Linked DNA regions of Homo sapiens: all the other regions are linked to region 5. The links are contacts of gene promoters, found by promoter capture Hi-C in blood cells and fetal thymus (Javierre and others, 2016). All regions are on one chromosome and are shown on one strand. Each heading gives the region's core, a stretch centred on a gene start or on the middle of the fragment in contact. The rest is flanking DNA. Distances are from core to core; before and after follow the strand shown. Region 1 overlaps KAT6B (lysine acetyltransferase 6B). Region 2 overlaps KAT6B (lysine acetyltransferase 6B). Region 3 overlaps KAT6B (lysine acetyltransferase 6B). Region 4 overlaps KAT6B (lysine acetyltransferase 6B). Region 5 holds the start of AP3M1 (adaptor related protein complex 3 subunit mu 1). Region 6 overlaps SAMD8 (sterile alpha motif domain containing 8). Region 7 overlaps DUSP29 (dual specificity phosphatase 29).

Region 1 (4,037 bases), core at 1,104-3,603, 850 kb after region 5:
AAAGTTATGGCACATCCATATAATGGAATATTATTAGCTGCTGAGAATTATGTTCTGACCAGGTGCAGTGGCTCATGCCTGTAATCTTTGGGAGACTGAGGCAGGAGGATCACATGAGCCCAGGAGTTCGAGGCCAGCCTGGGCAACATAGTAAGACCCCATCTCTACAAAAATAAATAAATGAAATTAGCTGGGCCTGGTAGCTTGTGACTGTAATTCCAGTTACTCAGGAGGCTGAGTCCTCCATTAAGGATGGCTTGATCCCAGGAGGTCAAGGCTTCAGTGAACTATGATTGCACCACTGCACTCCAACCTGGGCAATAGAACCAGACCCTGTTTCTTAAAAAAAATTATCTGGGAATTTGTAATGCTTGTGATAAGCAAGTGGCTTTCAAAATTATATATGTAATATGTTCTCAATTATGTAAAAAATATGCAAAGCAAAACAAATACATTTCTAGATGACCTCTGGAATTAGAATTACAGATACTTTTTATTTTCTTATTTATACTTTTTGCTGTAACTAAAAAGAAAAGAGGCCAGAGTCAATGGAGGCCTGACAGTGAGGATGCATGGAAAAGAGGCAGGTCCTGTTCGTTCCGTAGCAGGAGCATGCCTGGTGCAGAGTGGTGCTCAGAAAATACTGGTATTTATTGAATGCATAACTGAGCTTGGAGAGATAGTGAGCGCAGCTTTATGTAGCTTTCACTGTGCGTTTGGATGTCTACGTGCACTTTGCACAGACTCCAGAGCTCAGCAGGGGGTCTGCATTAGAGGGAGCAGCTGGGAGTCGTGGACATGCGGTGGTAGCTGAAACCATGGATGTGGGTGAGGGCAACCAGGGGGAAGTGTATAGGGAAACAGGGCTGAGGGTGGAGTGCTTGGAGTGTTAACATCTAAGGGACTAATAAAGAATGAGGAGCTCGCCAAGGAAATTTGCAAAGGGCCCAGAAGTCAGAAGAAAATTGGGAGATAATGGTGTTAGGAAAACCAGAAGAGGTCAGTATTTCAACAGTAACAGTCACAATAATCATCATAGCTGCCACTTCTAGAGCCCTTGCTATGTGTCAGGCACTGTTACCGGAATTACACACATTTACTCACTTAGTCCTCACGGAGACCCTATGGGGTAGGTTACTGTGACCATCTCTCTTCTGGGACGAGACACTAAGAGACTTGTCTAAGATCATCCCCCAGAGATTCAGTGCCCCAGAGAGAAAGTCATAAGAAGTATTCTTTGGACAACTGTATATTAAGTGCGATTAAAAGTAGATTCAAAAAGCTTTTGACTGTTTTATTCTGTTTGGTTGGGCGTAGCGTCTCACGCCTGTAATCCCAGCACTTTGGGAGTCTGAGGTAGGTGGACCACTTGAGGTCAGGAGTTCAAGACCAGCCTGGCCAACATGGTGAAACCCCATTTCTACTAAAAATACAAAAATATGGATGTGGTGGCATGTGCCTGTAGTCCCAGCTACTCAAGAGGCTGAGATAGGAGAATCACTTGAACCTGGGAAGCAGAGGTTGCAGTGAGCTGAGATCACCCCACTGCACTCCAGCCTGGGCGACAGAGCAAGACTCTGTCTTTTTTTTTTTTTCTTTTTTTAAAACAAAGCAAAACAAAACAAAACAAAAGCTTGACTGTCAAGGGCTGGGGACACAGGAACCTAGTTGTCTTTATTTTTAAGCTGGAGAGCCTGGAGCATGTGTATGTACATCAGTAGGGAAAAGAAAGAGCAGCGCTGATGGAAAAAATCGAGGGGAAAACAAAAAGCAACATCCAGGCAGGTGGTTTATTACAAAGTCTGATCTGGCATTTGATGAAATTCAACATTCTCTCCTAACTAAAATACTTAAACCTACTAACTAGAACTATAAGGGTTCTAAATCTCAGATTAACTTTTTCTTTTTTATCGGGGGCAGACGGACGTGTAACTAACGCTATAAAGGGTAAAGGACAGCTGGATCCAAGTCTACAGACTTACGTCTATAGTTTTTAGAGACCAGATAAACTTGCCATTAATATTAATTAATGGCAAGTTCGTCAGTTAAGTTAAATATCAGTTAATTGTACATTCAGGCATTTCTAAAATTAGTATGTTTGTGGAATAATCATAAAAATGTGTCAGCAGTTTCAATTTTTGGCTTTCTTTATTCAGTATTAAAATATTGGGCAGTCCTTCATGGAACAAGGCTGTAACTATAGGAAGCAGAAGTGATTGAATGAATTAGGCATTCACTTCGGGGAATTCCCTTTGCTGGCTCTTCATATGTTGAGGGTTTCACCTTAGCTTTTGTGAGGTCCGTGTGCTATTTAAAAACTGAGTCTATAATTAATCAGCGCTGCTAGAAGATGGTGCAAATGGCCCAGTTTTGTGCCTCCAGGTTATGAATTTGGCTCTTGTCTTCAGTGTGGTTTGCAGCGTCCTTCTACATGTCCCCTTTTTTAGAAATGATACTCCCCTCCACCCCTGCCCCCCACACACATATACAGCCAACCGGATTTAAGGAAAGCAGGAACTACAATAAACTTTTGAGGAAAGATGCTTTAGGGTATGATTTAGTACCTTAGTTCCTTTCTCACTTGAGTATTAATCAGTGTGGTTTTCTGCACCGTCGTTCTTTCCTCCTCTGGTTTAATGACAGAGATTTCTTCTTTAGGTGCCACAACCACCCACGTCCGTAGAGATCCCCGGGCTTGTTTCTCCTTTAGCCTCTGAATAGTTCTTGGCTGATTTCTTGAGGAAGCACCGCATTGGAAGAGAAAAGCATCTTCTCTTTGGTTTCCTGCTCCCTGCTTCTCTGCCCTTTTAAGTCCATAAAGCGAATTAGGAAGAAAGCCACATACTTCATTTCTACCCAGGGGGGTATCATGTCAGGAGGCTAATCATATCCACTCTCTCAGAGAGAAAGCTGCTTCTTCCCAGAATCTTAGATGCAAGCTACTGGTTTAAATGTTGTATTATATGATGGCTAAATACAGAAGTACGTGTCATAGTAGTTCAGGTTGCCAGCTACTACTAGTTTTCACAGTCTGCCTTCAGTGGGCTATTTTGTTTAAAAGAGCTTCCACTTACAAGCTTTTCAAAATACAATTTAAGTGAAACTTAAGAGTGTTTTTAAGTAGAGACTAAGTGGTTTCATCCTACCTGAAAATTGCCTTCTTGAAATAAATGTTTGATACCCACTGGCCTATCTCCTCTGGAAAACAGGAGTTTTCATTTAGAAGTCCAGTTGGTTGGATTCCAGTAAGCCGTTTCACCTGACTGTATTACGCCCCCTGGAACCAGGGCTGTGCAGGAGCCACCGGCTTCTCCCAGAGGGCAGGGTGAGCACAGTATCAGGGCACATGGCTTACCCTCAGGAGCTGCATCCCAGCCTCAAGGCCCTGGTGAGAAACTGTGCTCTCCAGCAAGGGTCTCTGGCCGTCTCTGCACCGTGTGGTCAGCTTAGGGCTGTGCCTCCCAAGACAGGACCTGAGGATGGGTATGGGTAGCAGAGATATTGCTCCCTTTGCTCCTGGGTGTCCAGAGCTCCAGTGCCTGTCACCTCACCTCTAGCAGCCTCAGGAGCTGTGTAAATTCTGTCATATACATGATGAGGGAGATCATGAAGCACTCACTTGAATCATAAAGTCTGTCTGGGGGAGGCTGCAGAGTAAATATTCCACTTTCCCCACTTACAGGCCCCACAAACAAGCCTCAGAAATGTGTTTGGAGGGACCATGACAGCATCTCTTAGGGACTTGTGTTATTTAGTTTTCTCTCTCTCTCTCTTTTTAGTGGCACTAACCAAAAAAAAAAAACAACAACAAACTAGGCTAAGCAAGTGCAGAGTCATTTATAAACTTGCATAGGTCTTTTATATACAGTCATTTATCATTTAAAAACTGAGATTCATTTTGAGAAATGCACCATTAGGCAACTTCATTGTCGTGTGAACATCATAGTGTATGTACTTAGACAGACCTAAGTCGAAGTCTATAGGTTACTACACACCTAGGCTATGTGGCATAGCTGATTGCTCCTAGGTGACCAACC
Region 2 (3,780 bases), core at 448-2,947, 880 kb after region 5:
CAGCATGCCGCTAATGTCTTTGTTAGTGACAGTGCATTTTGTAGTACTGTACAAGTGTTGTGCTAACAGTAAGCCATTTCTTAAGTTTTTTGCCTTGATTAGGGTGCCCTAATTTGAGGGTTTTAAAAAAAACTATATTTTTGTTAATTATAAAACTGTAAAGAGCTATAAAAGCTATTCCCATTTGGTTAGTCAAAAGGGTTTTATTGCTAAATGTTTGGTGTAAAGTTGAGACCCTTTTCCATTTTGGTGACAGATTTCTTTGGGGAAAAAAGGCAGCTTTCTGTTTTATAAATGCAGACTTCTGTTTATTGAATGAAGCATATCTCAGTGTTTATCTGTCAGGTTTTGAAACATTTCATATATGTCCAAATACTTGGCAGGATTTAAAAAAAAATAGTGAATTTGGTGTAAAGTTGCTATTTTATGGAAATGCCTCTAACTTTACATTTTCATTCCATCTGTAGATTTTTCTATCTTTATAAAATATTGGAGTTATTTTTTAAGGAAAAATAGAAAAGTAGCTTGTGAATAGCTCAAACTAAGCTTACAAATCGCATGTAAAAAAGCAAAAAAGTTATTTGTGTCTGTTTATATTGCTTCCTTTTTTGTAGCCTTTGTACCTGTACAGGGTGACAGTAAGGGCCAAGCAGGAGAGGCGTAATCCTTGTATAAAATAGGATCCAGCGACACTCTTGTATTTATCTGTTCTCTTTTTAGTCAGTCACTTCAAAAAAACAAAAAACAAACAAAAAAAAGCTGTACATTTTAACATAAAATAAATTATGATGAGCCATTTTTAGCCTCTTGTGTCCTGTCATATTATGATTGATAGAGAATGACCAATGGAACTGTATCATGTGTCACGCCTCAGAACACATACACATTTTGGGAAAATAAATTATTTAGTGTAAATTGGAGTTATGGGATTTTCTGATTTGTTTTGACTTTGGGGGAGGGGTTGGCAATAAATAAGAGTAATATCTAATAAAACCATCACATATACCAAATACCTATTTAATAAATTAATTTATAATGGATTTTAATGCTTTTCATGAAAGTTTATTTTATGCGAGTGCATACCTTCTGTATGCCAATCATTGTCTTTAAAATAAAGTGAAATTGTTTTTTTCTTTTGGACTTTGATCTTCATTTGCAAAGAGATCCCGCACAAATATCCAGCTGCCTCACTCGCACAGTCTGTAGAAACATCCCTCCAAGCCTCGCACCAGGGTAGCAAACTTCCTTTTTATAAAGATTCATACCAAAAAAAGCACCCAATTTGGGATTGTATGTTTGAAAAATCATTTTCTTTTTAAAAAGTGTGAACGTTTTGCTCTGTTGTGAATGATTAATTGTATGTTTTCTTTAGAGTCTAAAGTTTAGACCCCCTGCCAAAAGTGAATATTCACAAGTATAGCGTTCAGAGAAAGTTCTGAGTGTTGCTTGAATTTGGTTATTTGAGCAACAAGTCTAGAAATGAATGCTTGACCTAGCACCCGTGTGAAACTAGCCCGTTAAGCTCTCCAGGTGTCTGAACACGTGTGCTCGCAACTCCTCTGTTAAGCAGGTCACTACCCTGTGGAGGAAAAAAGTTGCTTTTGCACTGTTGATTCAACACACACACACAAAAATTAGATGTTTTACAAAGCATAGACATAAGCCTTAAAGTGGACCCAAAATCGTGCAAGGGCAGGATAGAGCGTACACACCAGAATAAAAGGCCTTGTGCAGACAGAGGGTGCCCAGTGGAGTTCTGCCTTGTACTCTCACCCTTATCGTTATTTTCTTTCACAGTTACAAAGTGTATTGGGTTTAGTGTCACAATTTTATCTTTTAGTCCCTTCCTTCCTCAACTGCAAAGTCAATGGGGGTAATATATGTAACAGCTGAGGGAGGGCTTTCAAGAAGACACGTCTGAAGGGCCGTCAGCACAAAGGGAAAAGATCCATTTAAGCTGCTGTGCTAATAGGAAAAGAAACCTATCAGCCATCCTCAGAGTAGGAAGTGGTGGTCTATGCCTGCACAAATCGAACACTGCGTCCATTCAGGAGTGGCCAAGGACTGGGCAGCCCAGTGGGCCACACATCGGGCAAGAGGCTGCCCGAGCCCTGGAGGTGGGGTTGGGGCCTGGAAGCAATCTGATCGGGAAGCAGAGCCCCGAACGGGCTCCGACCTGTCACATATTTTGTCTCTTTCCTCTTGGGTTAAGATTCTCTGGGGGCTGAGATTCCCCTCTGTGTTCCCTTTGGCCATGACCTGCTAATCACACCTTGTGGTTTGTGCGATGTCTGAGTTCCCATACCCTGCCAGCCTAACAGCCCTCTAAAGGAGCTTGTGGAAGAGTCCCAATCATTGCCCCAGACCTGCCAAACCCTAATCTTAGAACAGTCCCAGGGACACCTCGGTTGCCCAGGCTCCTTAAGGACTGCAGCATAGCTAGGACTAGGAGCTTCCGTGCTGGCCCCAGTCCCAACATTCCTTGATGGAACAGAAAGGCTTAGCATAGGAAGGAAACTGCTGATCTGAGATGGCCTCAGAACACCCTGCCCTCCACCTCACCCACTCTCACTAGAGAAATCAGTTCACATCTGAATGTGACGCCAAGGATTTGGCGAAACAGGAACTTGGATTCATCAAAGCTGAATTCATTCGATTGAGATTCATTAACAGGCCACATCATTTAAACCCTAACTGTGTTCTATTATTTGTAAGAGTCGTACCAAGTGGTGGTCAGTTGCCAGCCTCACGTTTTAATAGTTGCAAGTGGTGCCTACGCCAGGTGGGAGGGCATCCACCTTCCTCACCAACATTCTATTTTAGAAGTAATGACTCACAATATCGTCACAAAGCTTTCACAAACTCCTCCCACACACCCACCCTGTGCAGGAAATGGGGCCATTCTTTCCAATGTACAGATCAGGATGTTGAGGCTCAGATTAAGCTACATTAATTACCCAAACTCACCCAGCTAAAATGTGTGAGCTGAAACAAACCCAGGTCTTTCCAAATCCCAGCTCTTTTTTTCTAGGACACTGTATTCTGAAAGGCCCTAATTTGTCACCTCTCTGATTTAAAGGCTTGGCTAATGAATACATGTTGCTGTAAAAACTGTTAAGTGCTATATAAATACAGATCCCTTTGTGGCTGCGAGCAAGCCTTGGTCTACAATCAATCTTCGATACTCAAAGTACACGTACTGTTACATTATGAAGCAGCACCTTCCATTTCTCTGTACCCAGGTTTCCATCGTTCCTTCTACCTTCTCCATCCCCTTTCCTGGACCTTCCTCCTCCACCCAGGCTTACCTATAAACATTGATGTTCTGCAACACTCAGGCCGGGAGTGTTCTCTCTGTTTTCTCTCATCATCTCATCTAGTATGATGACTTCAAATTCCACCTCTCTGCAGGTGACACCCGGAATTACATCCCCAGTTGTGAATATTCCTCTGAGCTTTAGATGCCACGTCAAATGACCTGGGACACCTTTTGTACATCTGCATGACAACCGAACTGGTGATTTCCGACCGCTCCTCCGTTCCTGCTCTGGTCCATCCCATCTCAGTGTTAAAGCACTGCCGAGAAACCTCGATCAGTTAGCCCTCATTTCCCTCCCCATCTCGGGAGGTCCCGTCCGTTTTCTGGGTTAATTCCAAAATAATCTTGAATACTAATCCCCTGGTGCTGTCAGTCCAGCCCATTTCCTTTCCTGTCAACAGCCTCCTAACTGCTCTTGCCTCGCTTCTTAACTCCCTACAACCTGTTCTCCATACTTCAGC
Region 3 (3,486 bases), core at 856-3,355, 830 kb after region 5:
AATGTCACATATGTGAGAAAGGAAAATTCTTGATTCTAAAGCAGGAATTAGGGATGATTTTAGGAAATAAATTTTGGTAGTCAATGCCAAGTGCTTCCCAAACTATTGCTTTTGCCAGCACCTTTTTATGGTATTCCTTGTTCTCGGTAAATTCCTTATGCTCCTTAGTTACATGGGCATTATAAATTTTGCCATTTAGCTTCTAGATTGTGCTTTCTTTCCTTGGTTAATTGGGGAAATGTTGGTTTTGTATGAAACCAAATTAAAAAAAAAAAAAGAAATTTGCCATGGTGAATTATTGGGTAGACTTTCTTCTCCAGTTGTCTTTTATATTTTTTAATTAGGCCTGTTACTTTTATCTCTGATTTCTGGCATTTTATTTTCAAGTTTTTAATAGAAATTTAGCAAAAGAAGGAAAAATGGGAGAAAGTAAGTGGGAATGGGTAGTCTTAAGAGACCCTTCCCCAAATTTTTACTTTAGAACATTTGTGACTTTGAAGAGAAGGCCAGGCCCGGTGACTCACTCCTGTAATCCCATCACTTTGGGAGGCCAAGGTGGGTGGATCACCTGAGGTTAGGTGTGCAAGACCAGCCTGGCCAACATGGCAAAACCCCATCTCTACTAAAAATACAAAAATTAGCCAGACGTGATAGGACATGCCTGTAATCCCAGCTACTCGGGAGGCTGAGGCAGGAGAATCACTGGAACCCAGGAGGTGGAGGTTGCAGTAAGCCGAGATTGCACTACTGCACTCCAGCTCAGGTGACAGACCAAGATCCCATCTCAAAAAATAAAAAATAAAAAGGAGAAAATAATGGTATCCAAGTTTTTGTTTGTCTTGAACTCAAGATTAGCCTGTGAACGAATATATCCCAAAATGGGTACATTGAGAATAGATGTCTTCCATAAAGTATGTCAGGGTACACTTTACTAGTATCTTCAAAAATTTTTTAGTCTGCAAAGTTTTCAGTATTTATAAACTTGATTTTCTTATAGAATAGATCTTATTTTTTTTCGTTAGCATGTGAGTGTCTGGCCAATCACGTAACTGGAGAAAATGCTAAGTGTTTTCTAAAAGTTAAGTGACAAAATAAGAGTCAAGAATTTTGGTTTCTCCTTCCTTATACCATTTGGTTGTGTGTTCTTGAACAATTTTAAAAGACTATGAGCTTTAATTTGCATAGGTAATGATAAGCCATGTGCTCTGAAAGATTTGAATAAAATTTGTACATAAGTGCAAGATTTGAAAGTAGTCTCACCTGTGTCTGCCTCTCTCTTGAAAACCTTTTTCCCCATTCTTATACTCCAAAGACCTTGCAAGTGCTTCTAAACATTTTCTTATAAATACCAGCCATGTTCATTAAGATATGGAAATAAAAAATGTTCTGATTTTTAAGGTGGAGAAAAAGTCAGCAGGGAAGAGAGGTGTTTGTCTTTTACTCAAAGTAACAGTGGAATTGGTAGAAAACAAATTAGGTCTTTTGATTTTCAGCCGTGCTATTTACTGCATTTAGACCATATATAAATCTCTGATAATAACTTTAAAGTTACCTCTTCCAGAGGTGGAAATGGTAACAACTAAGTTTGAGGACTTTTCAGCCTCATATGTATGCAGATTGTTTAAAATAATAAATTCACTTCTGAGTAAGATATTATATCTATACCACTAACCATATATAATTGGAAATAAGATAGTAAATGTGAATTTTGAAAAATATGCTTGGTCCCTTGACAGGATGATATCCTTATTAAGTTGATTTTTTAGGGTGGTGGTTCCACATCTGTAAAGCTTTCTTTATATAGGATATTTTTAAGGAAACAAATTATTTGTTCACAAAGTAAAGGGAGCACATATTATGGATTATATTAAAAAATAATGTATGGTTGTTTTTACATTCTGTCTTTACTATTGGCTGGCTTTCTTTCTTTCTTTCTTCCTTCCTTCCTTCCTTCCTTCCTTCCTTCCTTTCTTCCTTTCTTTCCTTTCTTTCCTTTCTTTCCTTTCTTTCTTTATTTTTTTGACGGTGTCTCACTCTGTTGCCCAGGCTGGAGCGCAGTGGTGCAATCTCGATTCACTGCAACCTCCGCCTCATGGGCTTAAGCGATCTTCCTGCCTCAGCCTCCCAAATAGCTGGGACCACAGGCATGTGCCACCACGCCCAGCTAATTTTTGCATTTTTAGTAGTGATGAGGTTTCACCATGTTGGCCAGGCTGGTCTCAAACTCCTGATCTCAGGTGATCTGCCTGCCTTAGCCTCCCAAAGTGCTGGAATTACAGGTGTGAGCCACTGCACCCAGCCTCCAATGTTATTATACAGCCTTTTTATGATGTAGAGAAAATTGAACAATATTTAATCTTCCCCCCAACAGTATAATCTATCTGATAGATTCTATGATTTTTAAACTTTAACAGATTACCAAAGCTTTACCTGTGTGAATTCTGTCTTAAATATATGAAAAGTAAAAATATTTTGCTAAGACACTCCAAGAAGTGTGGATGGTTTCATCCTCCAGCAAATGAAATTTACCGAAGGAAAGACCTTTCAGTATTTGAGGTAAGCGCGTGTAAATAAAAAAATTCAGCTTTTTGAAATCTAGTACTCCTAATTGTTGACTATGTGCTGATTTGTGTTTAGAAGGTACAAAGTATACTTAATTTTGGCACTGAAATTCAGACTGCCCTTTAAAACATCTCCATGTTTTGGAATGTTTATCTAACCATATTAAGCAACCATTTAGACTGATGAAGAATCCCTACTTCATCACATTAACATTTTTGTCTTCCCCAAAATCCCTGTCTACACTAGATATATTCACCATGAATTTATGATCTCCTCAGCTCTTTGTAAATTCTACTTTCTTTGGCAGGAGAAATGAGCTTTGTTCAGCAGCTCCAGCCAATGTCTGGCAGGTGCTCACTCTTCCAGGGAATTGAGCAGCTGTACATATCTCCTCAATACACAACCACCTGTGTTTCCATCCACTTCTTGGCAGTGTGGATAATCCTTTTGGTGAGACCCTAGCAGATGTTGGGACTCCCTCCCATCTGGGTAGATGGCCACCCCTGAAGAACTCTGCTGTTCACAGGAACCCCTTGTGGCCATATGTCTGTCATTGTGGGTTTCTTGAAGACATTTTGTATTTCCAGAATTGATTTCGTAGCAGGCCTTTGCCTCTATATAGTTGCATTGTTTAATTATGTATCTGTTGTCAGTTTCAGGGATTCCGTTAAGCTGAGTCAGTTTCACCTTGAGGAGACCATGCCTTTCTCACAGGTTACTGTCTGTCTGCAGGGCTTTTCACGTTTCTCCTTTATGCTCTTCCCTCCACTTGCACACTTCTGTTGTCTGCTGCATTTTCTCCTCTGTGACCCATTGTGGTGTGCATTGGTGCTCATTCCTAGGTGCTTGAAACAAGCCTACCTTGTACAGCAAACGTGATGTCCTCTTTCTCTGGAATATAGTTTCACTTCTGGATTTTCTTTT
Region 4 (4,063 bases), core at 1,397-3,896, 770 kb after region 5:
ACATGACAGCTGAGTATTTTTAGTTTGATTTTTTTTTTAACATTTGCTAATAATACGTTTTCAACCAGATCATAAACTTTGTGGATAAGGTCCCTGTCTGCTATTTCTTTACCCTTCTCATATAGCATTTAATACAATGATAGGTGGATAATTGGTTCTCTTGGCCAGTTGACTGATCAAGGGGCAATTCTCCAAACTCTGGTGATTTCTCCTTTTCGTTCGTAAGACTGCTTTTATACCCCAACAAAGAAACTTGTTATAATTTAATAGTGGCTGTGTCCATTTTTCTTTTCTTCTCTGCTGTTCCATCCCAAGGTGGGATGGCCCCAATTAGACTAACCACTGAAACCCTGGGCATAAAATGGTGCCCAGGGAGCTTTTCTTCATATTAATTTGTGTGTACTCTAAAAGGAAAGATTATTTGGCTTGCTCATAAATCCAAAATTTTGGTGATGAAAATATGTTTATAATTATTTCTTTTGAGCTTGATTTGTTGTGGATTTTTTCCTTTATTTTGGTTTAAGATCAAATGGTTTCCTAATGTGTATGGGTCACTGTAGTCTAAATTTTTTTTTTTTTTTTTTTTTTTGAGATGGAGTTTTGCCCTTGTTGCCCAGGCTGGAGTTAAATGGCGAGATCTTGCCTCACTGCAACCTCCACCTCCTGGCTTCAAGTGATTCTCCTGCCTCATCCTCCTGAGTAGCTGGGATTACAGATGCCTGCCACCACGCCCAGCTAATTTTGTATTTTTAGTAGAGACAAGATTTTATCATGTTGGCCAGGCCGGTCTGGAACTCCTGACCTCAGGTGATCCGCCTGCCTTGAACTCCCAAAGTGCTGGGATTATAGGCATGAGCCACCGTGCCTGGCCTCTAAATATTTTTAAAGTATAGATGTTTTTAAACTTGTAGCTCCTGAGTGTGAACTGTCCCTTGCTGTTTTTTGGGCATCTATCAAGGCATTTGTTCTAACCACTGAGTAAGAAGGACATCACTAAGGGGGTTGTAGCTATACCTTTCTTCTTTTTATCTTTAATTAACATGCATTGACTGCCTGGTATGTTAGAAACAGACCTGCCTATTACAGTCTCATTCCCTTCCATACTCATCCTTGCTTGTGTGGCTACCTCCCAAGCTAGGACTGCAAGACCCTTATCACTCCTGCTTACTATTGGTTTTTGTGTCCTTTTGGCAATTTTCTAGTGGCTGCTTGAACTATTGGTTGTCAGATTGACCTGATTTGTTTCACTTGTAAACAAAATGCTTAAGCCACTGTTGATTTTTGTGACAGCTCAGTTGCTTAGAGCAAGGTGTTAATGAGACATCGGTCATAGGTCCAGGCTCTGGGTTGACTGGTAAGCTTTGCTCTGGCCCATGGCCACAGACCCTGACTCCCCCTTGCCAGCTGTCTTGCACATGTAGCTATGGCTCATTATGGGGACACAGCAGGGGGTGGAGATAAGACAAGGCAAATCTGTCATCTCTGCCAGAAAAGACAACTCCTACTGATAGGTCAGTAACCTTTTCATTGGAAGAACAGCACGTTAGTATTAGCTTCTGTAGATGTGTCTAACTGAGTCTTTTTCTTAAAATAACTCATGTGATTGTATGGGTTGTCTGCAGCAAGTTTAGAATACTGCTCACATTTTAAAGCATGTTTGAATATAAGGATGGCTTTTTAGTTTGTGAAGATTATTGTCCTTAATCAGGGATTCTTAATATCATTCTCTAAAGTAGAAAAGTGAGCTTTAGAAGTCAAATTTGATAAAGCTCTAGAAAACAACTGCAAAATTGCTGTTATAAAGAAACCTGTCAAATTTAGGAAGTGCCCTCCAGGAGCCCTTCATCCCAACCAATCCTCTCCTAAAAGAAAGGAAAAAAAGAAGAAAGATGGCTAGGTAGATGGAATAGTGATCAGAAAAAAAGAACTTTTCTAGAAAAGCATACCAGTGTGCTCTTTACCAGAGCATTTTAGCAGGTAATATTTTACAAAGGACCCAGCAGATAATTGGGCAGGTTTTTTCTTTAGGAACTTAGTGTTGATGGCCTGAATTAATCTGACTAGGAATTTAGACATTTCTTCATGATATATTTTGAGTCCATAGATGATCTGATTCTAATGTGACTTCAGTTTTTAACTTACATAGCGTTAAGCAAAAGGATGTGTGTGTATGTATGTGTGTTTGTTTTACATCCTAAAGGTATTACAGGCCCCATGGTAAACTTTTTGGCTCAAGTGAATCCAGAGTTTGGTATATGTAACCTCCAGTGGTGGTTCATGAACAAACACTTCATTTCTGTAGTCATATTTTTTTTTAAAGAATAAAAGTGAGCCAGGTTTAAAACTTGTTAAGAAAATAATAGCACAGGTGATACACAGATGAAGCAAAATTGCCGTGGATGGTCTGGGAATGCCTGAGGATTGAGAAACACTGGCTGAATTATACACTGTGGCAGAAGAAATTATAGGCCCTTAGAAACAGGTAGAGGTTATTGGAAAGATTCAAGCACCTAATGTTTAGTTAGAAGGTAAGTAAGCTGGTTTCTTAAGTTCTTGTTTATTTATTGGGTGTGGGCTCAGGATAAGTTAGTTTGAAATAGATCTTAGAGAAGTAAATGCAAGACAACTTTATCAATGAGTCATGGGCAAACAATTCTATTATTAGAAGTAGTATAGAAAAGGAGTAGGAGAAGTAGAAGGGAGGAAGTCTAGTATTCATTCATTTATTTATTCATTAATTCAGCCACTATTTCTTGAGCACCTGGTGTATGTCAGGCACTGTTGTAGGCACTGGGGACACAGCAGGGAGCAAAACAGACAAGTCTCTGCCCTCATGAAATTCATTTACATCCTAATGGGAAGAGACAAATAATGTAAGTGAGTATATAGCATGTCAGCTGTGAGAAATGCTATGGAGAAAAATAAAGCAGAGTAAGGGAATTAAGGAGTGATGGGATGGGGAGGCATTGCTTTTTTAAATAGTTTGATGAGGAAAGACCTCTCTAAGAAAGTGACATTTAACTTGACTTCTGAGGGAAGTGAGGGAGCATTCCAGGCATGGAGAAGGAGTGTTCTAGATGGAGGGAACAGCAAGTGCAAAGAGCCCTTGACATGTCTGAGAAACAGATAAGAGGCCAGTGTGGCTGGCGTGGAGAGAGAGGGGAGAGTCGTCAAGTAGTAAGAGGTGAGAGCAGATGGGAGGAAGGTCTCAGCACAGGTCAGGCCTCTGGCTTTGCTGAGAGTGATGGATGCCTTTGCAGGGTTTTGAACAGAGGAGGCACATGATTTGACTTAACGTTTTAACAAGCTGTTTCCTGCTGCTGTGTTGAGAATAAGCTGTAGGCGGCACCAAGGTGGCAGCTGGGAGGGTATTGCCACAAAACAAGCAAGAGATATGATGGTTTAGGCCAGTGGTAATGGTGGAGAGTGTGAGAAGAGGACAGATTCTGGATGTATTTTGAAGTAGAGCCCGCAGAATTTGTTGATGAACTTGATGCAGAGTGTTAGAAAAAGAGAAGACTTCAAGGTTATTGGCCTGAATAACTGGAAGGATGGAGTTATCTATCACTGAGATAAACAGAGGTAACAGAAGTAAAGGGGAGAGATGGCCATGGTAGAAGGTGGATTACACCTTTAAATTTTTAAAACATATTTTTATTTAAAATAGCCCTCACTCCCTGGCCCAGTGCACACAAAGGACCTGATTTGCTTTTACCCTGAGTTTGTCACTGTAGATATCCTGGAATACTTCGTTAAAAACTATAAATAAAGTGGCCATAATACGGCTCATTTTGTTCAGATTCTAAAAAAAAATTCCTTCATAAGCAGTTGGCTTCCAAATAGCAATGCATGCTGTCAGTTTGGTGACTAATTGGGTTAGAGGTTAATAGCAAGGCAGTCCTATAAACATCAACGGGAGTGGTGTATCCAAATGAAAGCTTGCATTAGGCAACAATTCAAAGAATGAGAATGACTAAATACCATGTTACAAGCCAAGTGAATTATATTAAGAGTTTTAACTTTGAGAGAAAGGGACGTTACCCCTGAAATAACTATCTTAGTT
Region 5 (3,599 bases), core at 1,062-3,561:
ATCTGCAAAGAACTCCCATAGCGTATGTGTATATGTATTTTTTTTTAAGAGATAGGGTCTTGTTTTGTTGCCCAGGCTGAAGTGCAGTGGACCAATCATAGCTCACTGTAACTTTGAACTCCTGGGCTCAAGTGATCCTTCTGCCTCATTCTGCCTCTACCTCCTGAGTAGCTAGGACTACAACCACATGCCACAAAGCCTGGCTAATGTTTAAATTTTTTGTAGAGATGGAGTCTCGCTATGTTGCCCAGGCTGATTTCCAGCTCCTGGCCTCAAGTGATTTTCCCGCCTCACCCACCCAAAGTGCTAGGATTACAGGCGTGAGCCACCGCACTCCATCTGCCCATAGTATATTGGTTTGTTTTTTTTTTTTTTGAGACGGAGTCTTACTCTATTGCCAGGCTGGAGTGCAGTGGCGCAATCTCAGCTTACCACAACCTCCGCTTCCTGGGTTCAAGCGATTCTCCTGCCTCAACCTCCCGAGTAGCTGGGACTACAGGCACGTGCCACCACGCCCAGATAATTTTTATATTTTTAGTAGTGACGGGGTTTCTCCATATTTGCCAGGATGGTCTCGATCTCTTGACCTCGTGATCCACCCACCTCAGCCTCTCAAAGTGCTGGGATTACAGGCATGAGCCCTACCGTGCCTGGCCGTATATTATATTAAATGGTTAGAAATAAAAATCATAAGATTAAGTAAGAAAATATAATCTTGTTGCAAAGAGAGCTTTCCTAAAGATACGTAAGGTTTTTTTTTTTTTTTTTTTTTTTTTTTTTTTTTTTTTTTCGAGGCAGAGTCTCGCTCTGTCGCTCAGGGTGGAGTGCAGTGGTGAGGTCTCAGCTTACTGCAACTTCCGCCTCCCGGGTTCAAGGGATTCTCCTGCCTCAGCCTACCAAGTAGCTGGGACTACAGGCGTGTGCCACCACACCTGGCTAATTTTTGTATTTTTAGTAGAGACAGGGTTTCACTATGTTGGCCAGGTTGGTCTCGAACTCCTGACTTTGTGATCCGCCCGCTTCAGCCTGCCAAAGTGCTGAGATTACAGGCGTGAGCCACCGCGCCTGGCCAAGATTCGTAAATTAAGATAATTCTTCATTAACCTCATTCACTTCACTTCTCCTATAGTGTCAATTGAAAGTGTCCCTCTGTCTTTCCCAAATTAATCCTTTCACTTGTAACTTGATCCCATTCCTTTCCTTCTCTTCTGGGAGACAAGACTTTTTCTTGAATCTTCAAATAGTTGCTTGCTTCCTGCCCCCAAATAGATATCTTGTATTCTTTAAAACAAACCCCAAACTTTCCCCCACCTTGCCACTCTCAATAATCTTGCTTCATGCCCCAAATGATGAAGGATTGGTCTACACTTGCAGTCTTTCCTCAGTTACTATTAAAGCATCTCTCTCAAACAGCTCAATGACTTTCTAATTATAAAATCCAACGACCTATTCTGATTTCAGCTTCCTCCTCTGACCATTGCAGCATTTTATGTCATTGATAACTTTCTCCTAAACAAAAATACTTCTTACCCTTTTATATGAAACTTCATCTGTTTTGGGTCTCACCTTGAAAGTCTTTCGGGCTTAATTCTCATAATTTTTTTTAAAGTCTTTCTACAATCTCCATGTAAACCACTGTTTCAAATTCGATAAAACTCAAACTCCATAAAATACCTCCTCCTGTCACTGGCACCATCTTCTTAATCACACATAAGGCTGTAAGTTTCAGGTTCAAACAAATCTACCAAATACAAACAGCCACATCGCCCGTCACTCTTCCACACTCACTGCCACCTGCTCAGCTTAGAACCCCGTTACCTCTCTCCTGAAGAACTGCAACACCCTTCTCACTGCATTCCTCACCCCAGGCTCTTCCAGGCACCACCCGCTAACAGGACGTCTGCTCAGGTCCGTTTGGGGTTTTGTCCTCCAAAGCAGAAACCTGGGACTGAGATTCCTGCCGTCTGTACTCCAGCTCACTATAGAGGGGGAACCCAGTAAGCTTGACCTCCGGGGCTCAGGCGCCTGAGAACACTGGGCTGCAGGTGGACCGCTCCCTTCTGGCCTTGCTGGCGAGAAAGCCCGGAAGGCCGGGAGTGGGGGGGAAGCGAGGCCCGGGCCAACAGCACCAAAGACGCTCCTAGAGCCCAGATCGGAGTCGGGGGCCCCAGCTATTCAGCCTACTCCCGGGTTTTGGAGCTGTCCCCAGTCCACAGATTTCCCGCCCCTCACACTCACCCCAACACCTGTGCCAGTCAGTGATTCGGCGCCGGATCCTCTCCTACCGAAGCTGGAGAAGCCGAGAAGGCCGCGAGGACCCGCAGCTGGAGTGCCCAGGAAATTGCCTGATTAACAGCTTCAAAGACACCGACTCTGTCTACCGTATTAGAAATTTTAAATATGCAGGAAGACCGTAAATGAGAGGAAAGACGTCTCTTGAGGCTTAGTATCTAAATCTTCTACATAATCCAGGGCCTAGAAAAATGGTGGGTTTCTCTCCATCTAGATTCAGGCGGTCATCTGCTGCCTAACGCAGTCTGGGGTCCCTCATGGTAGGGGAGGCGGGGTCAGGAATGGGCGGGGCATTCGCTGTTGGTGCCGACGGATAGAGCCAATGATTGTGGATGACAGCGGCACAGAATGGGCGGAGTCTGGAGGGGCGGGATTTGGAGAAGAGAAAGCGGTGATGCGAAGAGGGGGCGGGACCAGAGAGTGGATGGCAGAGGTGGGCTGTAGAGCCAAAGTGGGGTGGGAGCGCGAAGATGGCAGCTGCTGAGGAGGAGCCGAAGCCCAAAAAGCTGAAGGTGGAGGCGCCGCAAGCGCTGAGGTGAGCGCTGCCGGACTTGGGGAGGAGGGTGACGGCGCTGCAAGCAAGCCAGGGCCCACGTGGGGTTGCACGGCCCCGACGCTGGGTGGTGTCTCTCACTGCCAGCTTGGGGCCAACACGCAGGACCTCCCCCAGCTGCCCGCTTGGCCGCGACCCCTTGCCAGACGTTCTCTCCGTTTGGCTGAGTCCCCGCCTGTCTGGTGCAGCTCCGGCTCCAGCAGCCCTTCGCCAGTCGTGGCCCGCAGGGGGACCGAGCTGGCTGACCGCGCCACCTGCGAGCAAGCCCAGGCTGGGCTGGTGCGACCCCGGAGGGTCGGACCGGAGCAGCGTCTGTAGGCGGCCGCCTTCTCTTCCCGGGGGATGGCGGGAAAGAGGCTCGGCAACTGCTGTACACTGGGGCAAAGTCAGAATTCTTGGGGATTTTTCAGAGTGTTGCGGAAGGGCACGTTGACCTTCCTTTTCGTGCACATTCTGAAAGCCCGTACCTTTGAGGACCCTCTACCAGGGACCCAGACCCCTCCGATGCTTTGCAGGGGCAGCATTTGGATGAATGGATAGGAAAGGTTGATTTCTCTTTTTTATTTACACTTTTTGGCAGCAACGGGGACAGTGCTGCCCCTAACACCTGCCTCACATGTGATTGATGTTGCAACTTTTACTTATGAAGAGTCATTTGTTAAAATATCCCTTCCTAATAAGTATAAAGTGAAGCAGGCAGTCTTTGATGATTTGGAAATGTTCGCTGAAAGGCAGCGATTTTTTTTTCCATCTT
Region 6 (3,661 bases), core at 393-2,892, 990 kb after region 5:
TAATCCAAGTACAAGGGAAGGGAATTCAACACAGAAGAAGCTGCTGATTTTTGGGAAAAGAGGAGGCCATGCAGTAAAGAATTCGAGTGGTCGGTAAGCTTACGGTAATTTGTTACAAAGCAATAGAAAACAAATACAGGTAGTTGTATAATAAGTGTTTAAATCAGCTGTTTATGAAATGTATCAATATCTACAAAATTAAAGGCCCGTTGGGATTTTGATTGGAATTGGGTTGAATGTGCAGATAAGTTTGGGGAAAATTGTCCTCTTAACAGTATTGATTCTTCTGACCTACTCATTTCTCATTTTTAGGTGTTCGTCTTAGCAGTGTTTTTTGTTGTTTTCAGCATATAGGTCTTGCCCATGTTTTGTCAGATTTATCCCTGAGTATTTAATATTTTTTATGCTATTATAAATGGTATTTTATACATTTTAATTTTTGATTGTTTGTTGCTAGTATATGGAAATACAATTGATGGCTGGGTGTGATAGCTCACGCCTGTAATCCCACACTTTGGGAGGCTGAGGCAGGTGAATCTCCTGAGCTCAGGAGTTCGAGATGGGTCTGGGCAACATAGCAAAACCCTGTTTCTACCAAAAATATTAAAAATTAGCCAAGTGTGCCAAGTGTGGTGCGCATGCACCTGTGGTCCCAGCTACTTGGAAGGCTGAAGTGGGAGAATGGCTTGAGCCTGGGAGGTGGAGGTTGCAGTGAGCCGAGATCGTGCCACTGCACTCCAACCTGGGTGACAGAGTGACACCCTGTCTCAAAAAAAAAAAAAAAGAAAGGAAGACAATTGATTTTTGTTTGTCGATACTATATGTGGCAATCTTGCTAAACTGACTTATTCTAGTAACTGTTTTTGGTATAGTCTATTGAATTTTCAACATAAATAATCAAGTTGTCAGCAAATAGAGTTTTATTTCTTCCTTTTTAATCTGTATGCCTTTTACTTTTTTTTTTTTTTTTTCCTCGAGATGGAGTCTCACTCTGTCTCCCAGGCTGGAGTTCAGTGGTGCGATCTCCGCTCACTGCAAGCTCCGTCTCCCGGGTTCACGCCATTCTCCTGCCTCAGCCTCCCGAGTAGCTGGGACTACAGGTGCCTGCCACCATGCCCGGCTAATTTTTTGTATTTTTATTAGAGACAGGGTTTCACCGTGTTAGCCAGGATGGTCTCGATCTCCTGACCTCATGATCCACCTGCCTCAGCCTCCCAAAGTGCTGGGATTACAGGCGTGAGCCACCACGCCTGGCCTGCCTTTTGCTTCTTTTTTTTATCTTATTACACTGACCAGAACTTCTGATGTTTTGTAGAAGTGGTGAGAGTGACGGTCTTGCCTTGCATCTTTTTTTTTTCCTTACACTTGCTTTTTAAAAAAATTTTATTTTTATTTTTGTTTTTGAGAAAGAGTCTCACTCTGTTGCCCAGGTGGCTCACTGCAGCCTCCACCTTCTGGGTTCAAGCAATTCTCCTGCCTCAGCCTTCTGAGTACCTGGGATTGCAGGCACCCACCACCATGCCTGGCTAATTTTTGTATTTTTAGTAGAGATGGGGTTTCACCATGTTAGCCAGGCTGGTCTTAAACTCCTGACCTGAGGTGATCCGCCTGTCTCAGCTTCCCAAAGTGCTGGGATTACAGGCATGAGCCAACATGCCCAGCCTTTGTTATTGATTTCTGCCCTCATCATTATTATTTCCTTCTGCTTTGGGTTTAATTTTCTCTTTAGCTTCTTGGTGGTATTATTTTAGCTGATATTAGTGGATTTCCATTTCTCCCAACCTTTGTGCTATTGTTAACATATGTTTTACATATGTTATAAATCCCACAGTACATTGCTTTTTGTTTAAACAGTAAATTATCTTTTTTTTGAGACGAAGTCTTGTTCTGCCACCAGGCTGGAGTGCAGTGGCACGATCTTGGCTCACTGCAACCTCCGCTTCCCAGGTTCAAGCGATTCTTCTGCCTCAGCCTCCTGAGTAGCTGGGACTATAGGCGCGTGCCACCACGCCCAGCTAATTTTTGTATTTTTAGTAGAGACGGGGTTTCACCATGTTGGCCAGGATGGTCTCGATCTCTTGACCATGTGATCCGCCCGCCTCGGCCTCCCAAAGTGCTGGGATTACAGGCATGAGCCACCACCCGGCCTAAATTATCTTTTAAAGAAACTTAAGGCCGGGTGCAGTGCCTCCCATCACTTTGGGAGGCCGAGGCAGGCAGATTACCTGAGGTCAGGAGTCTTGAAAAACCAAACAAAACATCAATACAAATGAATATCCTTCTATCCTGAAGGACAAATGAATGAGGACAGCATCCTCTTCCTTTTCCCACAATGTAATAATTCTTGATTTGAGTGTTTATCATGGCCTTATAAGTGCATTGTTGGCTATTAAAAACTTTCTGTGCTTCCTTACAACAAGCAAAGTTAAAAGCTGGTACTGCGGCTGGGCGCGGTGGCTCACGCCTGTAATCCCAGCACTTTGGGAGGCCGAGGCGGGTGGATCACAAGGTCAGGAGATCAAGACCAGCCTGGCCAACATGGTGAAATCTCGTCTTTACTAAAAATACAAAAATTAGCCTGGTGCAGTGGCACGGGCCCATAATCCCAGCTACTGGGGAGGCTGAGGCAGGAGAATCTCTTGAACCCAGAGGCAGAGGTTGCAGTGAGCCTAGGTCATGCCACTGCACTCCAGGCTGGGTGATAGAGTGAGACTCTGTCTCATAAATAAATAAACTAACTAACTTAAATAGTAAGAAAAAATGTATATATTTATGCATGTGGCTACCATTTTGGTGTTCATTTCTTTGTGTAGATTCATATTTTGGTATGGTAACATTTTCTTTCTGCTTGAAGGACCTTAAATTTTTGTAGTGCATGTCTGCTGGTGATGAAATCAGCTTTTGTGTGTCTGAACAAGTATTTGCCTTTGCTTGTGAATGATATTTCACTGGGCCTACGGTTTTAGGTTGTTGTTTTTTTTTTCTTTCAGTACTTTATGTTGTTTCACTGTATTCTAGCTTGGCTTGAGCCCAGTAAGAAATCTCTTATCATTCTTACCTTTGTTCCTAATGTGTCTGTTTTCTCTTTTTGCTTTTAAGATTTTCTCATTGTCACTGTTTTTAAGTAATTTGATTTTGGTATGCCTTGGTATAGCTTTCTTCTTGTTTCTTATTTTTGGAGTTTGTTAAGCTTCTTGGATACACATGTTTATGGTTTTCACCAAATTTGGAAAATTTTTGGCCATTGTTACTTCAAATATTTTTTCTGTTCTCTCTTGTCTTTTGGAAGCTGTTTGATGTTGTTCCACCTCTCACTGATGTTCTTTCTTTGGTGTGTTTGTGTGTGTGGTAAAATATATACAACCAAATTTATAATTTAAACTTTTTTTTTTTTTTTTTTGGAGTTGGAGTCTTGCTCTGTCACCCAGGCTGAAGTGCAGTGGCACGATCTCGGCTCACTGCAACCTCTGCCTCCCGGGTTCAAGTGATTCTCCTGCCTCAGCCTCCAGAGTAGCTGGGATTACAGGCACCCGCCACCATGCCAGGCTCTTTTTTTCTATTTTTAGTGGAGATGGGGTTTTCACAGTGTTAGCCAGGATGGTCTCCATCTCTTGACCTCGTGACCGCCTACCTCGGCCTCCCAAAGTGCTGGGATTACAGG
Region 7 (4,055 bases), core at 1,382-3,881, 900 kb after region 5:
GAACTGCTGGGAGCCTCCGTTTTCTTTGTTTGCTAAATAGTACCGATTACACTGGCAGTACTTTCCTTGTGAGAGTCTTGTGAAGTTGAATGATGCAATACTGAAGCTTCTTTGAGAGGTTAAAAGATGACTCCAAGGGGAAAAGGCAGTGGAAAGATTTATGTCAGAATGTGCTTATCCCATGACAAAATGTGGTAATGGGATTATATGTAGTTTAAATTTTCTTGTTTTTGTCTTTCTACATTTTGTACATTTTCAGTAATGAACGAGTCATATATTCATTTACTATGTAAATATAGCATGATTTGTATTGTTATTTCCTTAGTTTTCAGGAGAGACCATTGTAAAGGCATAAGGTGGCCTCGGGGTTTTTAACTTCTACTGGAAATCTCCTGTCTGCCCCACTCTCCCAAACTCTATTCCTCCAAGGATGGAGGTGAAGAGAAGAGAGTACCCAGGAGGTCTGGTTTTGAGAAATGATGTCGTGTGAGTGATTGGACTCGGCATTTGCCTAACCATGCAAGGAGATGGTTTATGTTGCTTGAGGCCTTGACTGCTAAGCCGTGTTCTGGCAATGAGAAGGCCAGGCCAGGCCAGGGCCTCAGGCTTCTCTCCCCGACCGTCTTGCCTGTGACTGCTGCCCAGCTATGCCTCAGTTGCCTTCAGTAGTTGGAAGTCCTAGTTATTTCAGGTAACGCCCAGCATGTTAAATTCGCAACCTTGACTGTTTTTTGCTGCATCCTAAACTGGCCACACCACCCACACCTCGAAGAAGCAGGTTAATTTCATTCGTGCTCGGTGCCTTAAGGCGGAATTAGTTCCTCCTTTTCGGGGAGAAGGAGCTGTCTCAGCTGACTGACTTGCCTTCACTTCACTTCCCAGGCTCTCAACGCCAGGCCAGCTGTGGCGATGCCTCTGGCTTCTGAGGCTGTGGGTCTGGTCAGAAGCAGAAAAGCAGAAAGGACAAGACAGAGGTTCCCTGGAAAGCCAGCTTGGGCTGGGTGGGTGGGGCAGGCTGCAGGCCTTGGCAGGAATCTGAGCCCAAATGCCGGACCTTGGAGGCAACTGTAGTTTACACAAAAATAAGGAGCTCCTGAGGGCCCGCACCATTCCATGAGCAGCAGAAGTTTAACCTCACCCTGGCACTGGCTCTCCGACACCCGCATTGTGGAGAGGGAAGAGAGATTTCTCAATTATCCCGTTTCAGCCAAGCCTTATCACTGGAGGCTGCCCTGCCTAGGAATTTGCAATCACTTTGATGGTAGCCAGGATATTTCCCCTCCTGCTGACTATAGGGAAAAAAAGGACTGAAAAAAGATTTTGCTAAGCAAATGAAAGATGTGAACGAGATTAAAGTGAGAATATTTAAATTACAGAAACTTAGTGCTTTCGAGCGTACTCAAGCATTTTTGAAGCACCCATTTAGGGACTGCTGATTGATAAGAGGTGATGAATTATTCTTATCTCATCATTGACGCCAGTCCCTGGCTCTCTGGAGGACAACACTTGGTTAACCTAATTTGAATCTAATTTGAATGACTTAAAAGTAATAAAACAAGTGTGTGCTTGAAACTAATAAAGCCTAATTCATTTAATAGGCCATTTCTTAAATAATTTTATTTTAGAGCTGGAAGGGAACCTTCGAAATCATCCTTTATTTTACAAATAAAGAAACTGAGTCCCAGAACAATAAAATGCTTTGCCAAAGGCCACCCATAGTTGGTGGCCACCCACACACAGTGGGGACTGGGACGCTGTGCCGAGTCATGCCTGAGCCCTCCGCTCCACGCTGAGCCTGCAGTTCCACTTGTGGCAGATTCAGACCCCTATCGAGTTAGAGGAATGAGTGGGGAGTGGGTGGCTACACCTTGTGTGAAGAAGACTTCCCCCGAACCCCAGGAATATCTGCAAGGTGGCCAGCCAGGCCCCACCCCTTCGACCCCTCTGCTGAGCCGGCAGAGTGAGCACCCTCCACGTTGCCCTCCTGTTTGTGGCCTTTTCTCATCAGGCTGCACTGGCAGGGCCACCTTTCCCCTTCCCTGGGCTGCTGAGCAGTGAGGACTTGGAATTACCAGGCAGCCCACTTGGTGAATCCCCTTGAGCTAACCTGGGATGGAGAAAATGCTTTAGCGATTTTGAAACCCGCAGGCCCAAGGAACTTTGATATGGCTGCCTTCTTAGGCCTTAGGTCACCTCCCTGGAAGGCCTAGGAGAGCAGGCCCTCCTTCCAACACTCTGCCCTGGGTCATGATAGAATTCTCATGGGAGAAATCTGACCCAGGGTTGTTTTCTCTCCCAAGGCTTCCCCTAGCATGGGGGACCCTGGGTGGCAAGGCACAGTGACTGTGCTTTACCTTCCTCATACACTGTGAATCGAATTTCCAGAACCTGCCTGATTTGTCATAGTTCAAACTTGATGAATGTACTGGGCACCGTGAGACATGTTTTGCTTGCATTAACGCATAGAATCCACATAGGCGAAGAAGCTGAAAGTCACAAAGCCTGAGTGACTTGCCCAAGGCCACACAGAAACCAGTGTTCAGTCCAGACACTGTGGACCCAGAGCAGATGCTTGGCCGCTCCACCTATCTCCACAAAAAGGAGCAAGGAAAAGAGTGAGCTTCATCTTAGAGGTAAGTATGCCCCGCTGCAGGCCCCACAGTCACTGGCCTGGGCTCCAAGGATAGATAGTAGCTTTGGCCATCCCAGGACATCCATCCTTACTCCTGGGTCCTGACCTCCTTCACTTCCAGAGCCTTGGTACTGGGCTTTCAAAAATCTTAGGTGCTTTTAGGGAAAGGAAAAACCTAACCGAAATGTAAATATCAAATTAAAACTGAGGCTTTGTGCATGAGGAACCAGCTTGGAGCTTTTGGCTGCTTTGGGCAACCCCTGCAAAGAGACCAAGAAACACAGGCAGCCTTGCCTGTTCACAGCCCAGCTTATAACCTTTGCATGGCTGCATTGGCGGTAGAGTTAATTGCTCTTGCAATAAGCGTCTGTGAGTCTCATTAACCTTGTTAAGTGAGTGTCACAGAAATCAGGGACAAGCACACACCATGCTGACTTGAGGCTCCCTCCCTCAGCTGGGGGTGTAAAGTCTCACACACCTGTGTGTGCTTGTATTGGGGCTCGATTAGGCACAGTTGGATTGAATTAAAAGGGCAGTGACATTTTCCATTTTCTTGGTTGAAAGAAGCAAGTTCAAGGTCAAACATCAAGGAGGCAAGCATATTTTATTGTCTAGCACTCGATTAACTAGAACACGTCAGTTCTGCTCAGACACTCAATGGTTTTCTGAATAAAGTCCCTTGGCCGTCATTCACCCTTCCATGAGCTGGCCCTGACCTACCTTTCCAGATTTCTTTTTTGTTAACTATAATATTTGCATTTGTCTACTTTTTTTTTTTTTTTTTTTTTTCTTGAGACGGAGTTTCGCTTTGTCACCAGGCTGGAGTGCAGTGGCGCGATCTCGGCTCACTGCAACCTCCGCCTCCCGGGTTCACGCCATTCTCCTACCTCGGCCTCCCGAGTAGCTGGGATTACAGGAGCCCGCCACCATGCCAGGCTAATTTTTTTGTATTTTTAGTGGAGACAGCATTTCACCGTGTTAGCCAGGATGGTCTCAATCTCCTGACCTCGTAATCCGCCTGCCTCGGCCTCCCAAAGTGCTGGGATTACAGGCGTGAGCCAACGCGCCCGGCCATCCCCGGCTAATTTTTGTATTTTTAGTAGAGGCGGGGTTTTGCCATGTTGGCCAGGCTGGTCTCGAACTTGTGACTTCAAGCGAGCCACCTGCCTCGGCCTCCCAAAGTGTTGAGATTACAGGCGTGAGCCACCACGCCTGGCCAACTATTCTTCAAGTTGAGGAAAAGGTAAAATAACCTGCCCAAAGCCAATGCACCTGACCAGGAGGCTGTGCCAGATGGCATTATTGTTAGAACGTTTGCAGCCCCTCTGGCTGCGCTAGTTATACTTTCCTGCCCCACTGACATGAGGCTTTGGCGTGGACTTGCTTTTGCCAGTGAAATGTGGGCAAAAATGGCATGTGTCAC

What was found. Contacts are between HindIII fragments. The CHiCAGO score rates a contact against its expected background, and 5 or more counts as called.
Region 1: a fragment that was not itself captured here is called in contact with the fragment with the promoter of AP3M1 in region 5 in 2 of 17 cell types (fetal thymus and total B cells); the score reaches 5.7 in fetal thymus.
Region 2: a fragment that was not itself captured here is called in contact with the fragment with the promoter of AP3M1 in region 5 in 1 of 17 cell types (fetal thymus); the score reaches 5.9 in fetal thymus.
Region 3: a fragment that was not itself captured here is called in contact with the fragment with the promoter of AP3M1 in region 5 in 1 of 17 cell types (fetal thymus); the score reaches 7.5 in fetal thymus.
Region 4: a fragment that was not itself captured here is called in contact with the fragment with the promoter of AP3M1 in region 5 in 1 of 17 cell types (endothelial precursors); the score reaches 5.1 in endothelial precursors.
Region 6: a contact is called between a fragment that was not itself captured here and the fragment with the promoter of AP3M1 in region 5, in 4 of 17 cell types (total CD8 T cells, naive CD8 T cells, naive CD4 T cells and 1 more). The highest score is 5.6, in total CD8 T cells.
Region 7: a contact is called between a fragment that was not itself captured here and the fragment with the promoter of AP3M1 in region 5, in 3 of 17 cell types (fetal thymus, M0 macrophages and M1 macrophages). The highest score is 5.7, in fetal thymus.

The regions. Positions count from the first base shown.
Region 1 is chr10:74,998,588-75,002,624 of GRCh38, forward strand. All of the region lies in intron 13 of KAT6B (lysine acetyltransferase 6B), which reads left to right. Among named protein-coding and RNA genes, the nearest start is that of SNORD172, 21 kb to the right of the region's middle. The HindIII fragment of the contact is 1,444 bases long and covers 1,632-3,075 here.
Region 2 is chr10:75,031,492-75,035,271 of GRCh38, forward strand. KAT6B (lysine acetyltransferase 6B) reads left to right here. Exons shown (of 18, transcript NM_012330.4): 18 at 1-1,133. Among named protein-coding and RNA genes, the nearest start is that of SNORD172, 12 kb to the left of the region's middle. RefSeq lists an enhancer at 1,754-1,803. The HindIII fragment of the contact is 2,306 bases long and covers 545-2,850 here.
Region 3 is chr10:74,979,373-74,982,858 of GRCh38, forward strand. It overlaps KAT6B (lysine acetyltransferase 6B), which reads left to right. Exons shown (of 18, transcript NM_012330.4): 11 at 2,415-2,556. Among named protein-coding and RNA genes, the nearest start is that of SNORD172, 41 kb to the right of the region's middle. RefSeq lists an enhancer at 3,182-3,231. The HindIII fragment of the contact is 634 bases long and covers 1,789-2,422 here.
Region 4 is chr10:74,920,543-74,924,605 of GRCh38, forward strand. All of the region lies in intron 3 of KAT6B (lysine acetyltransferase 6B), which reads left to right. Among named protein-coding and RNA genes, the nearest start is that of KAT6B, 96 kb to the left of the region's middle. The HindIII fragment of the contact is 2,579 bases long and covers 1,358-3,936 here.
Region 5 is chr10:74,148,517-74,152,115 of GRCh38, forward strand. It overlaps AP3M1 (adaptor related protein complex 3 subunit mu 1), which reads right to left and starts at 2,312. Exons shown (of 9, transcript NM_012095.6): 1 at 2,239-2,312. It overlaps ADK (adenosine kinase), which reads left to right and starts at 2,705. Exons shown (of 11, transcript NM_006721.4): 1 at 2,705-2,827. The coding sequence starts at 2,763. RefSeq lists enhancers at 2,236-2,465, 2,876-3,055. The HindIII fragment of the contact is 5,595 bases long and covers 2,001-3,599 here.
Region 6 is chr10:75,140,585-75,144,245 of GRCh38, forward strand. All of the region lies in intron 1 of SAMD8 (sterile alpha motif domain containing 8), which reads left to right. Among named protein-coding and RNA genes, the nearest start is that of SAMD8, 31 kb to the left of the region's middle. RefSeq lists an enhancer at 1,103-1,602. The HindIII fragment of the contact is 3,092 bases long and covers 97-3,188 here.
Region 7 is chr10:75,048,902-75,052,956 of GRCh38, forward strand. The region is part of intron 2 of DUSP29 (dual specificity phosphatase 29); the gene reads right to left. Among named protein-coding and RNA genes, the nearest start is that of DUSP29, 23 kb to the right of the region's middle. The HindIII fragment of the contact is 5,055 bases long and covers 105-4,055 here.